Linked DNA regions of Homo sapiens: all the other regions are linked to region 3. The links are contacts of gene promoters, found by promoter capture Hi-C in blood cells and fetal thymus (Javierre and others, 2016). All regions are on one chromosome and are shown on one strand. The core of a region is centred on a gene start or on the middle of the fragment in contact, and the rest is flanking DNA. Distances in the headings are between cores, read along the strand shown.

Region 1 (3,971 bases), core at 638-3,137, 850 kb after region 3:
GAAATTTGAAAAAGTCATCATTTCAATTTTCTTTCATAGTTGGCAAAGAGAAAAATGAGACTGGTGTCGAAGACTCTTCTAACGAATAAAATAGTCTATATATACTGTCGTGTCCAATTAATGTTGTATATATAATAACTTAAGTGAGCAAATTCCACTCCACATAGCCTACAGGTTAAATAAAAGTAAATTTTTTTTAATGTATTTCAAGGCCAAGTGTTACATTCCAGAAAGATTAATATGACTTTTGTATTTAACTCTGAATATCTCAGGTGAAAAAACTCTATTGAATAGTGCAAGAACTTATGAATATCTCAGAAACCCTCTTAAATGGAGCAAGAGACAAGAATCTGTGCAAATTTAAATTTTAAGAGACCCATTCTCCATTTGGCTAATAAACATATTCTTTACGACCTTAAAGTTACTCACATATAAGTGTTTTTTGTCTCCTTCTCTGGTACTTTGAAAAGTTTAAGGACTTGAGATACTAGGATTCTCTTCTCCCATAAATAACGTATTAAGTTTAGCATAATTAAAAATATTGTTAGGTTTGTAATTTCCATTTCCACTATTCTTTTTTTTTGAGACGGAGTCTCGCTCTGCAGCCCAGGCTGGAGTGCAGTGGCCCAATCTCGGCTCACTGCAACCTCTGCCTCCCGGGTTCAAGCAGTTCTCCTGCCTCGCCTCCCGAGTAGCTGGGATTACATGCGCGTGCCACCATGCCCGGCTAATTTTTTGTATTTTTAGTAGAGATGGGGTTTCACCATGCTGGCCAGGCTGGTCTTGAACTCCTGGCCTTGTGACCCGCCTGCCTCAGCCTCCCAAAGTTCTGGGATTACAAGCATTTCCACAATTCTTTAAACCTTATGGATGCTCTATTATAATACTTTGCTTTAAGAGTGGTCTACAAAACCACAGATAAGGCAAAGAAGAATAAAGCAAGATTGTCCCTTAGTGGTTACAATAACTAGGAGTAGGGATTCTGACATTCTTCCAGATTCTTAGGTGTTTACCCCACCTCGACCCATGCAATTTTTGTAGATTTTACAACACTTTCTTATTATTAGTTATGGGAATGACTATTTCAAGTTTGAGCTGTTTCCCAGAATATTTTCAAGAACAAATAACTCTAAAAAAATAACTGGAACTTTTATAGGAATGCATTCCCTGCAGATGTGCATCATCACCTAATATGCAAGGGTTCCACATGCCTCAACAGCTCATGACATTCGAAATCAATGTTTGAGTTTGATAATGTCTTATCTAACTAATTAAAAATAATTTTAACGTGCAAATTTCTTGTAACATCTTAATAGCATAAGAAATTAAAATATAAGTCAATAGCAAACAGAAATGATACAGAGAAACTGAAGCACACAGATGAATATAAATATCCCAATAAAACTTGTTCCGGGCAGCGGGCTGCAGGAATACGTTGCAAACGCAAGAGCAAAACAGGATGCAAACGTGGGAAAAATGGGAAATAAGTGGAGTTAGGACGGACAAAGACTGAGAAAGAGGAAGCAATCCCCTAAAAAGCAGAGAGGTTCCTCAGATGAAGGAGGGCAAAACGTCAACCACCACCTCAGCTCTGTTCTCTACTAATGCCCAAATGCAAGTGCATGGTAGGTAAAGGTGGGTTTTGCTCACACCGTTTTCTTAATTTGGCAAACTACGGTCAGATCCACATTAGCCGTTAAGTTTCCAGCCAGCAGTCCTTGAGAAATTCTCCAGGAAAGAAGACAGCCGTGTCGTCTAGTGACGCGCATGCGCAGTCTCAGCGCTGCGCGCTCCGTGTTTTATCCTACCCAGGCCTGGAAGGAAGTGACGCGAGGCTGAGGGGCGGGTTGCGCTGTGCGTCCGGAAGTGTCTCGCAGATAGTAAATAATCTCGGAAAGGCGAGAAAGAAGCTGTCTCCATCTTGTCTGTATCCGCTGCTCTTGTGACGTTGTGGAGATGGGGAGCGTCCTGGGGCTGTGCTCCATGGCGAGCTGGGTAAGGTGCTTTTTGCGGCCTCTGGGGTGCTAGTGTGAGAGACCAAAGAGAAGGCGATCCGAGCCGGGGCTGGGTGAGCCCGGCGGGAATGTGGTGCCCCACCCAACAGGGAGTGCCCTCTCTGTCCCCGTTTTCTTCCCGTCTCCTCTCGTCACTCAGACTCAGCTTCAGAGCTTTGGGTCTTGCGAAGAACTGATCACTGGCCGTAAGGTTTAGTGGCGATGGGAAGATGACTCAAATTGAGGAAGAGAACTAGAATAGGGCCCCTCCCCCACCCCTGCTTCGTGAACGCTGTCTCCCATTCTTTGAGGTCCCTTTTCGTGGTTTTGTTTGTATCTGCGCAGGCCATCTCTACAAAGGTCTTTGCCCCTTTCCTTCGGTGGGGTACCCACTCTGTTGTCATCTCTTTCCTGGCGACCTCAGACTGCCGCACTGTCGTTCCTGGATTCATGTCGCCCTCTTTGTTCAGTGGCGCAGATTATGATTAAAAAGTGCCTGTCGTCATTTGGAACCGCCTGGCAGTAATGCTAATGTAGTAATATTGTTTTTGAAACAAATAGTCATAGCTCTGCCGTAACTGTTTGAAGTGTCAATTTCAGATTTCAACTTAAAATTGAAATTTCAGATGACACACGCATGCCTTGTGCCTAATGACAATTTTGTCTTTAGGCACAAAACATGCGTGTGTCATCTGAAATTTCATGCTTAATTAGCTGTACATTGCATTTTCATTAAAGAGTTGTTAGAGTAAAACTATTTTCAGTATAGTGGCAAGACTTTGGTCCGTGTGGCACAAATTTCAGTTTATTTAAGATAATCTCTGCCCCCTCCAAAATAGTAGGCAAAACATTGGCAGTGCAGTTAATAAAGATATTTGTAATTTTAGGCGAGGTATTTGGACTCAAATCACTTTTCTTTAGTCTGGAATTTGTTAATTCTGTTTCTAACAATTGCTTTTCTGACTTCCCAAATGATTCCGTTATATATACTCTTAAAGGTTTTGATATGTCTTGAACTAAAAATGTTGAATTTTAATCAAATAATAATGTGGGGATTGTTACTCCAGCCAGTCTGTTCTTTTGATTATATGGTATTTCTTCTTGCACGGAAGCCTGGAATATTTTATCTCAAGATATTAGAGAGTTTAATTATTGACTTTTATACAAAAGAGGCATATTTAGTGTGATAAACAGTTTTGAAAACTGATAATTGATTATCATATAAGATTGTTTTCATCGGTTTTTTATTGGAAGATGTTATGCAATTCAATTTGTAATGTCGTATCTTGTCCAGTTATGAAGTGGGCGTGCTGTAGTTTTTTGTATATAATAGAGATTTAAAAGATGAGATACATGTTTTCCCTTTTACAAAATAGATCGCCACCTTTATTGATTAGAAGAATGTCCGTGATAAAATTGACCCTGCCTTTTAGTTTCTGTGTTAATAGCGAAGTACATTAAAAAGGTAGAAGCAGTGAGGCAGTTTTTTAGAGATGGGGGTCTAAGTGTATTGGCCGGGCTGAAGTGCAGGGGATGGTCGTAGTGAACTGCAGCCTGGAACTGCTGGGCTTAAGTGTAACCTCAGCCTCCCAGGTAGCTGGTACTACAGGCAGGTGCTACCGTGCTCAGTTTGGAATTTATTTTATTGTTTGCAGTTTCAGTAATCTTTTTCCCTTTTCTTCCTTGTGCCTCTGTCTCTATTCATTAATTGTTTGATTTTACTGCAGGCCAATAGTCATTGAAGGGGACCATCTCTTCCACATTCTTAACAGTTAATGTGCTCATTTACTTAGAGGTTTTGATGAAATTAAAATTTATTCAGCTTTTCAAAAGTAACACTCAGAGCCTGCTGCAGTGGCTCACGCCTGTAATCCCAGCACTTGGGAGGATGAGGTGGATGGATCACTTGATGTCAGGAGTGGGAGACCGCCTGGTCAATATGGTGAAACCCCGTCTCTACTAAAAATACAAAAAAAA
Region 2 (4,168 bases), core at 1,625-4,124, 540 kb after region 3:
CACACAAAAAGTGTCTGAGGAAGGCTTGGTGAAGGCATAATATTTCTCCTAGTTTGTGATACTACTCCATCATTAGATAAATTATTTGTTAATTATTTTATATTTGATCAATTTAGGACAAAAACAGAGGAAAAAGTCTTGTAAAGATGGAGTCAGAAATGGATCAGAGTAATAACAACTGTAAGCCCAACAACCTCAATGATTGCCAGGAGCCATCCGGGAAGTAGGAAGAAGCAAGGGAGGGGGCCCGCAGAAGGATGGCAACACTAGGGTCGCCTTGATCTCAGGCGTCCAGCTTTCAGAACTGAGAAAATTCATTTCTGTTGTTTTAAGCCACCAAGTTTGTGGTACTTTGTTGTGGCAGCCTTAGGACACTAATAAATCCTCTTTTACAGATAATTCCTAGTAAGTAAGAAGAGGCTGATTGAAAAAAATATTTTTCATGTCTACCTAGTATTGAATATATATGTTTAAAAGGCATATTATGCATTCGAGAAAAAAACTGGAAAGAAGTAACATCAAAATGGTTCTCTTTGGGGGCTGGGAGCCTTGGCTCAGGCCTGTAATCCCAGCACTCTGGGAGGCCGAGGCAGCAGGCGGGAGCATCACTTTGAGCTCAAGAGCTGTAGGCCAGCCTGGGCAACATGGCGAAATCCCATCTCTACAAAAATACAAAAAAATTAGCCCGGCGTTGGTGGCTTGCACCTGTGGTCCCAGCTACTTAGGAGGCTGAGGTTGTAGAATCGCTTGAGCCCATGAAGCAGAGGTTGCAGTGAGCCAAGAATGCACCCCCTGCACTCCAGTCTGGGTGACACAGCAAGACTTTATCTCAAAAAAAAAAAAAAAAAAGGGTTATCACTGATGAGAAATCAGAGGGGATTTTAATTTTTTTGTTATACTTTTCTGTTATATTCTAAATTATCTGCCCAGAACTTGTGTAACTTTATAAATTAAAATATAAACTGTTTAAAGATCTCTTATTACAGGAGCTATAAAGTCATCTGTCTGAGATTCTCTTATAATAGCAATTATCTTTATATATTTCAGTGATTATGGGCTTTATATTAAATTTTATTTGAGAGACATCCATAGTTATCCTACAAAAAATCTTTTGACACAGTTTTAGGCAAATCAATGGCAACTTTTATTTTTTTAACTACACATGAATTTTTCTCTTTTTCTACAATCAAAGAAGTTGAGCTGAAGAAGAAAATTAACTGGGATCTTTTTGTTTCCCCTGTTTTACATATAGTTAAAGAACCTTGCCAGTGATGTATTATTAAAGAAGGAAGGAAGGAGGAAGAATGGAAGGAGGAGGGAAGAAGAAGGAAGGAGGTGAGAGGTGTGCGGAGAGGAGAAAAAAACAAGGAAGAATGGAGAATTGTCATTACTTACCATAACCATTTTGCCATCCTTAATTTCTCTTACAAAATTTGTTTCTTTGCCATCCCATTTCTGTATGTGAACAAGTTTGTCTCCATCCAGGCTAACAACAGACTGAGACCAACAACAAAATGCAGAACATAGCAATAAATACAATTCAGATTTCTGATACGGAAGACGATGTGATTTTTGAAAGAGTTGTATAATTGAATAAATCATGATCAGTTAATTATCCTATTGTTATTTCTATTACTTCTAGATTTTCTATTATGTAAATTTGAATTCATAATTTGATTAAAAAGTATACATCTAAATACAAAAATTTAATATATTAAAAACAAAAATCCTAAACCAGTGCTTTGCAGCTAGTCGTCCCTCTAAAGAAAGCCTTAGAATGAGGCAAACTGTCTATTTAGTCAATCTGAGGCAACCTGGGGAATTAAACAAAATGCAATCTCTCTTTCAAACAAACCTTATTAAATATTTTCTGAAATACAAGTTTGATATAAAATGTGAACAGTATATGGTAAGAGACAAATACAACTGAGATTTATGCTATAGCAAGTACCCATTGTTCAAAATATAACATATGCACATTAAACTAACTTTGGTGTATTTCTCCTTGGATTGAAATACTGAAAATATTCTACACTTTCCAACATCTTAAAAAAAACATGCATTGGAAATCTTTATCTTTATTCCCCTCTCCCCATCCCCACTCTGAAGAAGAAGCAGTTTCTCACCTTACAGTTTCTATCATCTGCAGTGGTTTCATCAAACTCTTCTCCCAGCTGGAAACTAATCTCCGTGTTCTTGAATGTGCTGAGAGTCCTGATGACCACTTTGTCTCCTTCTTGACTGATAATTACCGTTGGTTTGGTCACATTTCCCACCTGCCTAGTGGCAAAGCCCACGCCTAAAATAGCAAAGGGAACAGTACAGTCTGCAGCGACTTCCAAAATAACTCACAAAGCAAGAATCTGCTTTCTGATTCTGGAATCCACGTTCTAAAGTGTAAGTTTCATTAGAACATGATTAGCCCATTAATCATGTAAAACACTACTGTGATAATAAGTGGATGCAGAAGAAAACCAAAAAAGTCAGAGAAGCTTCATATTCTCCACGGAATAGCAAATGTTCTGTTTTTATTGGCCCTGGGTAAGAAGGCAAGCAAGTGCCACATTAAAAATCCATTCAGTGGAAAATGCATAGCCTAGCATCTGATCAGGGCAATGTGATCTGTCTTTGCCTCTTGCTGACCTGATGAGTGAAAAATGGAATCTGCAAATATCTAAAGCTGCACGTTGAGAAGAGAACAGCCGGTCTTATTGTTACCTACCTAGAGCCTTCATGTACTCATCAAAGTTCTGACTGTTGGTCAGCTTCCAGGTAGCACAGAAAGCCTCCACCATCCTTGCCCTTTCCCCTCTTTAGAGACAGGAGCGGGGATCTTCTGGTCTAATTGCCACTGCAGCTCAGAAGACCCTTTACACCTCAGCAAGCAGCTCCTGCCTTCTTATTTGGAAAGAGGGTGGGCAAAAATCCAGTGATTTAAATTGCAAACACACCCCTCCAGTGTCCCTCTTTCCAAGAGGCTGTCACAGAGAGAGGAGAAGGGAAGGAGCGCTCGAGTGAGGCTCCAATCCTCTTTGTGATTGGCTCAGGCCACTGGGTTAGCGGAGTAGGTCGAGTTCCTCCCAATCCTCACACTACAGCCCTTATGCCTGAGAAAGCTCGGCAGGGATTCAATGGGGCTGGAGGCAGGGAACGGGAAAATGAGAGAAGGGCTTTCAGGTTCGGTGAGAAAAAACTTGGCAAAGGCAATCTCAGACTGCAAGGAAAGAAAAAAGATGCACAATGGGGCATTCAGATTGATTTCCGTTAATGACAAAGCTGGTCACAAATGAGGACCCCCCTTAAAGAAAACCACTGAAATGCCAGACTTTGCAGACAAAGGAGAGTGAATAGTGTGTGTTATTTTCTCTCATAGTTACAGGGAGAGCGAAATGCAGGCTAGAGTAGGCCAAACTGAAAAAGAGGGCGGGGAGGAGGTGTAAATGCCTTCCCTGGATATACTGCTTGAAGGCTACTCTGACTGTCAATGAGGAAGCACACTAATTTGGGTCCTTTCCCAACACAAACCGAGAGAATTTAAAGATCCCGTTGTCCTTTCTAAAAATGTGAGAACGAGACTGAGTTGGAAAAGGGACCTAAGGAAGAGTATGGTTAGGACTTACTAATGAGGTACAAAAATAAATAAAAGAATGCTTTTCCCCCCGATCTCCTTGAATAGATTATAGAACCCATGTGGAAAAACTGGACAGAAGATTATTTAGTAAGACTTTAAATTACCTGCATTCTAGGACCTTTTGATTTCCTGAGGCCACATCTACACAAATACAATCTGTGTACATTTGTTGGGAGTTAGTGATGGGGAAGGGCAGGAACTGGAGGAGCGGTAGGAATCAGAAGGGCTTTGGTTTCAGTTTGCCCTGGCTCAGGGTTCCCCAAGAATGGCAAATACCTTGAGGGTTCTAAGTAGAGTATTTAAAGGAAGTCTCTGAAATTCCCCTTCACCCAAAGAGATTCCTTCCTGACTTACTAGTGCTGACCAGCAATGAAAGCAGCTTACCTGCCTCTCCTGGGGACAGAGCAGGAGAATCCGACTTGATATTCCCTGCCCTTCTCTCTCCCCTCCCAATTAAACTGCAGCCCAGCACATTTCTACCCAATCCACACCAGATCCAACAGAGAAGGCTCAGAAGGCCTCCTACGCTAGGTGGCG
Region 3 (4,390 bases), core at 1,584-4,083:
TTATGCCTATAATCCCAGCACTTTGGGAGGCTGAGGCAGGTGGATCACGAGGTCAGGAGATCAACACCATCCTGGCTAATATGGTGAAACCCCGTCTCTACTAAAAATACAAAAATTAGCTGGGCGTGGTGGTAGGCACCTATAGTCCCAGCTGCTGGGGAGGCTGAGGCAGGAGAATGGCATGAATCCAGGAGGTGGAGGTTGCAGTGAGCCGAGATTGCGCCACTGCACTCCAGCCTGGGTGACAGTGAGACTCCGTCTCAAAAATAATAATAATAATAATAATAATAATAATAATAATAATAATAAATTTTAAAAAAAGAGCTGGGACAGGGGAAAAGTGAAGTGTTCGCCAATGCTCCCTTCAATAAGGCAGACCAAATTGTCATCTAATCAATGGAGATCTGTTATTTCAATATTAGTACTTGAATACTCAGGAAATATTTGTTAAATCATTTAGTCTAATTCTAGCCACAAATTCCTGAGATAATTATAATGTTTCCATTTCAAAAGATTAGAAAATGGAAATTTGGAGAGTTTCAGAGATCACATATTAGATTATTTGGTTAAAAAGGAAATAAATTTCAAACTGAGGAATTGTTTGCTTGCTTAGCTTTTGCCTGTTTGTTTGTTTTTCTTCAACTGCAGTGGCAAAAATGATCTCTGCAACTCCTTGACATGAATGAAGTTGAACTATCACTTGAGAATATCATCACCTTGCTTCTTCATTATGCATGGAAGGATTCCTCAGTTCATGAGCAAAGATGATACTAATTCAGAAAGATAATCAGGGAAAATGGGAGCATAGAGAATGCATGAAGTGTCAAGACCATATGGATGTGGCTAAATAAGAGAAAGGAAAATGTTAAACAGTCAGTAAAATATTGAAGTAAAGAAATGTACAGCCAGATAAGATGAAAAGCTATGTAGTAGCAGATGCTGGGTGTTGGTTCACTGTGTGACCTCACCCAAAGTTAGAACAATTTCTTCTTTTGGCAATCTATGAACTGAAGAAGTTCAAAATCAAACTCAAAGGCAGTGAAATCTTGTCTTTTTCACAGTTATATTTATCCGGACCACAAAGCATTGTGTCTGCAGCAGAAGAAATCAGATACCATCTAGTATAGCAGACTGAATCTTTGCAAAATAAGCATTCCTCTTAAGACTTATTTAGGGAGGCTTATCTCATATCTGAAACATTGAAGTCAAGCTATTTGGAGTGACAGTATTTCTATATTCCATGCAGTACTTCCTCATGCAGAAAACAGAATGTGGAAGAGTGTGAGTGTGTGTGTGTGCAGGCACATGCAAAGTGCATCACATTTTCTTTTAAATAATAATATAGTTAGGACCACAACAAAGTTGTGAAATTGCGTGTCTTTGTGTGTAGTAGTGGTAATAGTAGTAATAGCAAGTAGTAGCAACAGGTTTTCATCAAAGTCCAAATATTCAGGAGATCCTGAATAAAAAAAGGTCCAAATGATGGAAAAACCATGGGTTTGGAATAAATGTATGAATGTTGCTTATAACAAATAAAATGTTTTTTTTAATTTTAAAATACGTATTGTATTTAAAATTGGGTTAGAAAAGTGCGAGAAAAGTAGTTTAAAATATCAGTGAAATGATTGACCTCCACCGTTTGCTTTGTACCTGGCACCATTCGAAGTACTTCACGTGTAGTGTTTAATTTTCACAGCAATCCTGTTTGCATTAACGTGAAAATGGAAGCACTGAGAGTTACTTGCCCAGGTCACACAATTGCCTGATGTGGATCCAGAACTGGTGTCTGGCAGTCTGATTTTAGACCTATGTCCTCAGCCACCACGTTTTCCAGACCCCCTCATACTGAAATTCACCTATGGTTGACCAGAGATAACACTGCTAATGTTCCTTTATATATTTTACAGGAGTAGGTTTTGTGACCCGCTTTTAAATATAACAACTTCCCATGTCATTAAATATTGAATACTACTCCAGGAGTGTGTGAGAGAGTTATTCATTTTCTATTAATGCTCAGACTGCTTAGTTTTACCAGCTCAACGTAGGAAACTATATAATACGATTCATGATTTAAAGACTGGCTTGAAAAAAAATAGAAACCTCTGTGATTATACTGTATATGTTAATTATAATCCTAATGACTATTAGTAGTTTGTGTAGATAATACAACATAGATAATATAGACAGACCACTTATAAGAAGTAGAATGTGGTGTGCTATACAGTTTTTATGTATTAAATGCTTCAAAGCTTTTAATTCTATCAGTAGCAACTTTAGTTATAGAAGTGTGTTGAAGTGCTTAAAACTTTGGAAACGGAATTCAAATCCCAGTTTTGCCACTTACTAGGGAGTATATATTTAAACATATTATTAAGTCTCAGTATTGCTATCTGTAAATTGAGTCTAATAATAACATTTACCACATAGGAGTGGTATGTAAGGATTATGTAATTTGTCCATTTTTTCAACAAATATTTGTTGATCTCTCTTCTGTGCAAAGAACAGTCTAAGCACTATCATGTATTAGGGAAAATAAAAAAATCATCCCAGGACTCATGAAGTTTATATGCTACTAGGGTTAGAGAGCTAATAAACAAATGAATATTTAATATTATATCAATAAAATATAGATAACATATATAATATACTTACCTTAGAGACTACCATGTGGCAAATACAAAGTGTCATTGGTGCAAAATAATAATAATGATTATTATTTTATTTTATTCCACATGTGAGATATCTATGTGCTAAAGAAACAACCGTGATAATAACAAAATAAATTGAGAAAAAAATCTATGATATTTAGCTTTTGCCTTGCAAAGTACTTAAAATAGAGGCATTCTGAAAATAATGCAGATTATTGGGATTTATATATTGAATAAATTTATTTCTTTTCTTTTTATGAAGACAAAGCAGAGACTCCTAAACAGAGTTTGTCTCCACTGCTGCCCTTCTGACTTAAGCACTTGCATGCTGAAGTTTTGGTCTGCTTATTCTACTTGAAAACACTATTGATGACATTGAAAAATCACTAATGAAGCTCCCTTCCCCAGGCCCATCAGCAATTTACATTTCACAAATGAAATCAACAGCCTGGAAAAGTCAGTGCTGCATAGGAAATGGCAGGCTGCCTGCCTCAACAACTTAGCATGGGGACTTTTTGGTTCCATATTTCCCCAATGCTTGTACGTGTAGCCCAAAACGAAGGGCTTCAGTGGCAAATGTTTACAGAAATTAGATATTGTATTATTATACAAGAATAATTGTGGTAGAAAACAATTAAACAGTGAAGACAGAATGAAAAATAAATGCTCGCCTGCTGTCTCTCTGGCCTCCCAGTCCCAATGGCCAGTATTAACTAACAACTGTCCTTGGTTTCCTGAAGCATCTCATTATAACTTTTCATTAAGCTTCATATATAAAGTTTATATATATACACACATATGTAAATATATATATAGTTGTTTTTATATGGCTTGAAATAAATCCTAGTTAGAAACTGTAATCTCATATGGCTCAAAAAATACTTTACTGTCAGTAGAAATATCATCTACAAAATGAGTGCACTGAGTTCTTAAAAATCAAGTAGCCTAATAAAAGAGCTGCTCAACTTAGAAAATCCGTTGCCACTTTCTCACATATCAATTCCTGCCTTGAGTATTCAAGGGTAAAATCCCAATTCTGTTTAAAAAAAAAAGAGAAAATTACTTTGAAAGATCATGCAATTTAAGTTTATGAGCATAATTTAAAAATAGCTAAGCTCTTTATATACATCACTTCTAATTCTCACATCAATTTTACATTATTTTCTCCATTTTAGCAATGACAGAATGAAGACTTGAGGTTTTAAGTAATGCCCAAGGTCACAAAACTTAGGAAATGAGCTTGCTTTTAAAGTCAGATTATAAAACCCAAAAACCGACTCTTCATACACCAAAAGAACTTGTCCTAAGGTCATCTTTAGCATTACTGTTCACATAACACTAAAGCCAGTAGTTCTATTCTAGTAAGAGGGCCCACAGCCACACGTTAGATAATACCTTTTCATAGGAGTGCTTACAAAATTCTGTGTACAAGATCGAAGTTGGTTCTGGTTGTATTGTACCCATAGTTGGTATAAATATTCTCCACAATTTTTATTTTTTCCAAAAGATCGTTTGACAAACATTAAGGCTGAGAAGATTTCATTTCAAGATTACAATATGATTGACAGGAGTGAAAGCCGTGTGCAGAGTGGGAAGCAAGGCTGTTTCAAATAGATACCTATTATTGATGAGCAAAATGCTAATGAACTGTGTCCTAGGAAGAAAAGATTTAAATTTGTGGGAATTCATTTCTAAGAAATCCAAATATTCAAATTAGCCATACTTCGGAAACAGAACTAAGA

What was found. The method cuts DNA at HindIII sites, captures the fragments that hold promoters and counts their contacts. A CHiCAGO score of 5 or more calls a contact.
Region 1: a contact is called between the fragment with the promoter of SERINC1 here and a fragment that was not itself captured in region 3, in 1 of 17 cell types (total CD4 T cells). The highest score is 5.7, in total CD4 T cells.
Region 2: a contact is called between the fragment with the promoter of FABP7 here and a fragment that was not itself captured in region 3, in 1 of 17 cell types (monocytes). The highest score is 5.3, in monocytes.

What each region holds. Positions count from the first base shown.
Region 1 is chr6:122,469,723-122,473,693 of GRCh38, reverse strand. It overlaps SERINC1 (serine incorporator 1), which reads left to right and starts at 1,887. Exons shown (of 10, transcript NM_020755.4): 1 at 1,887-1,995. The coding sequence starts at 1,957. It also overlaps a transcript of PKIB not described here. RefSeq lists enhancers at 1,728-1,787, 1,838-2,237. The HindIII fragment of the contact is 8,379 bases long and covers 1-3,971 here.
Region 2 is chr6:122,778,422-122,782,589 of GRCh38, reverse strand. It overlaps FABP7 (fatty acid binding protein 7), which reads right to left and starts at 2,874. Exons shown (of 4, transcript NM_001446.5): 1 at 2,723-2,874; 2 at 2,127-2,299; 3 at 1,396-1,497. The coding sequence starts at 2,795. The HindIII fragment of the contact is 5,682 bases long and covers 2,495-4,168 here.
Region 3 is chr6:123,318,533-123,322,922 of GRCh38, reverse strand. All of the region lies in intron 23 of TRDN (triadin), which reads left to right. The region is part of intron 1 of LOC124901393 (a long non-coding RNA gene); the gene reads right to left. Among named protein-coding and RNA genes, the nearest start is that of TRDN-AS1, 120 kb to the left of the region's middle. The HindIII fragment of the contact is 1,164 bases long and covers 2,252-3,415 here.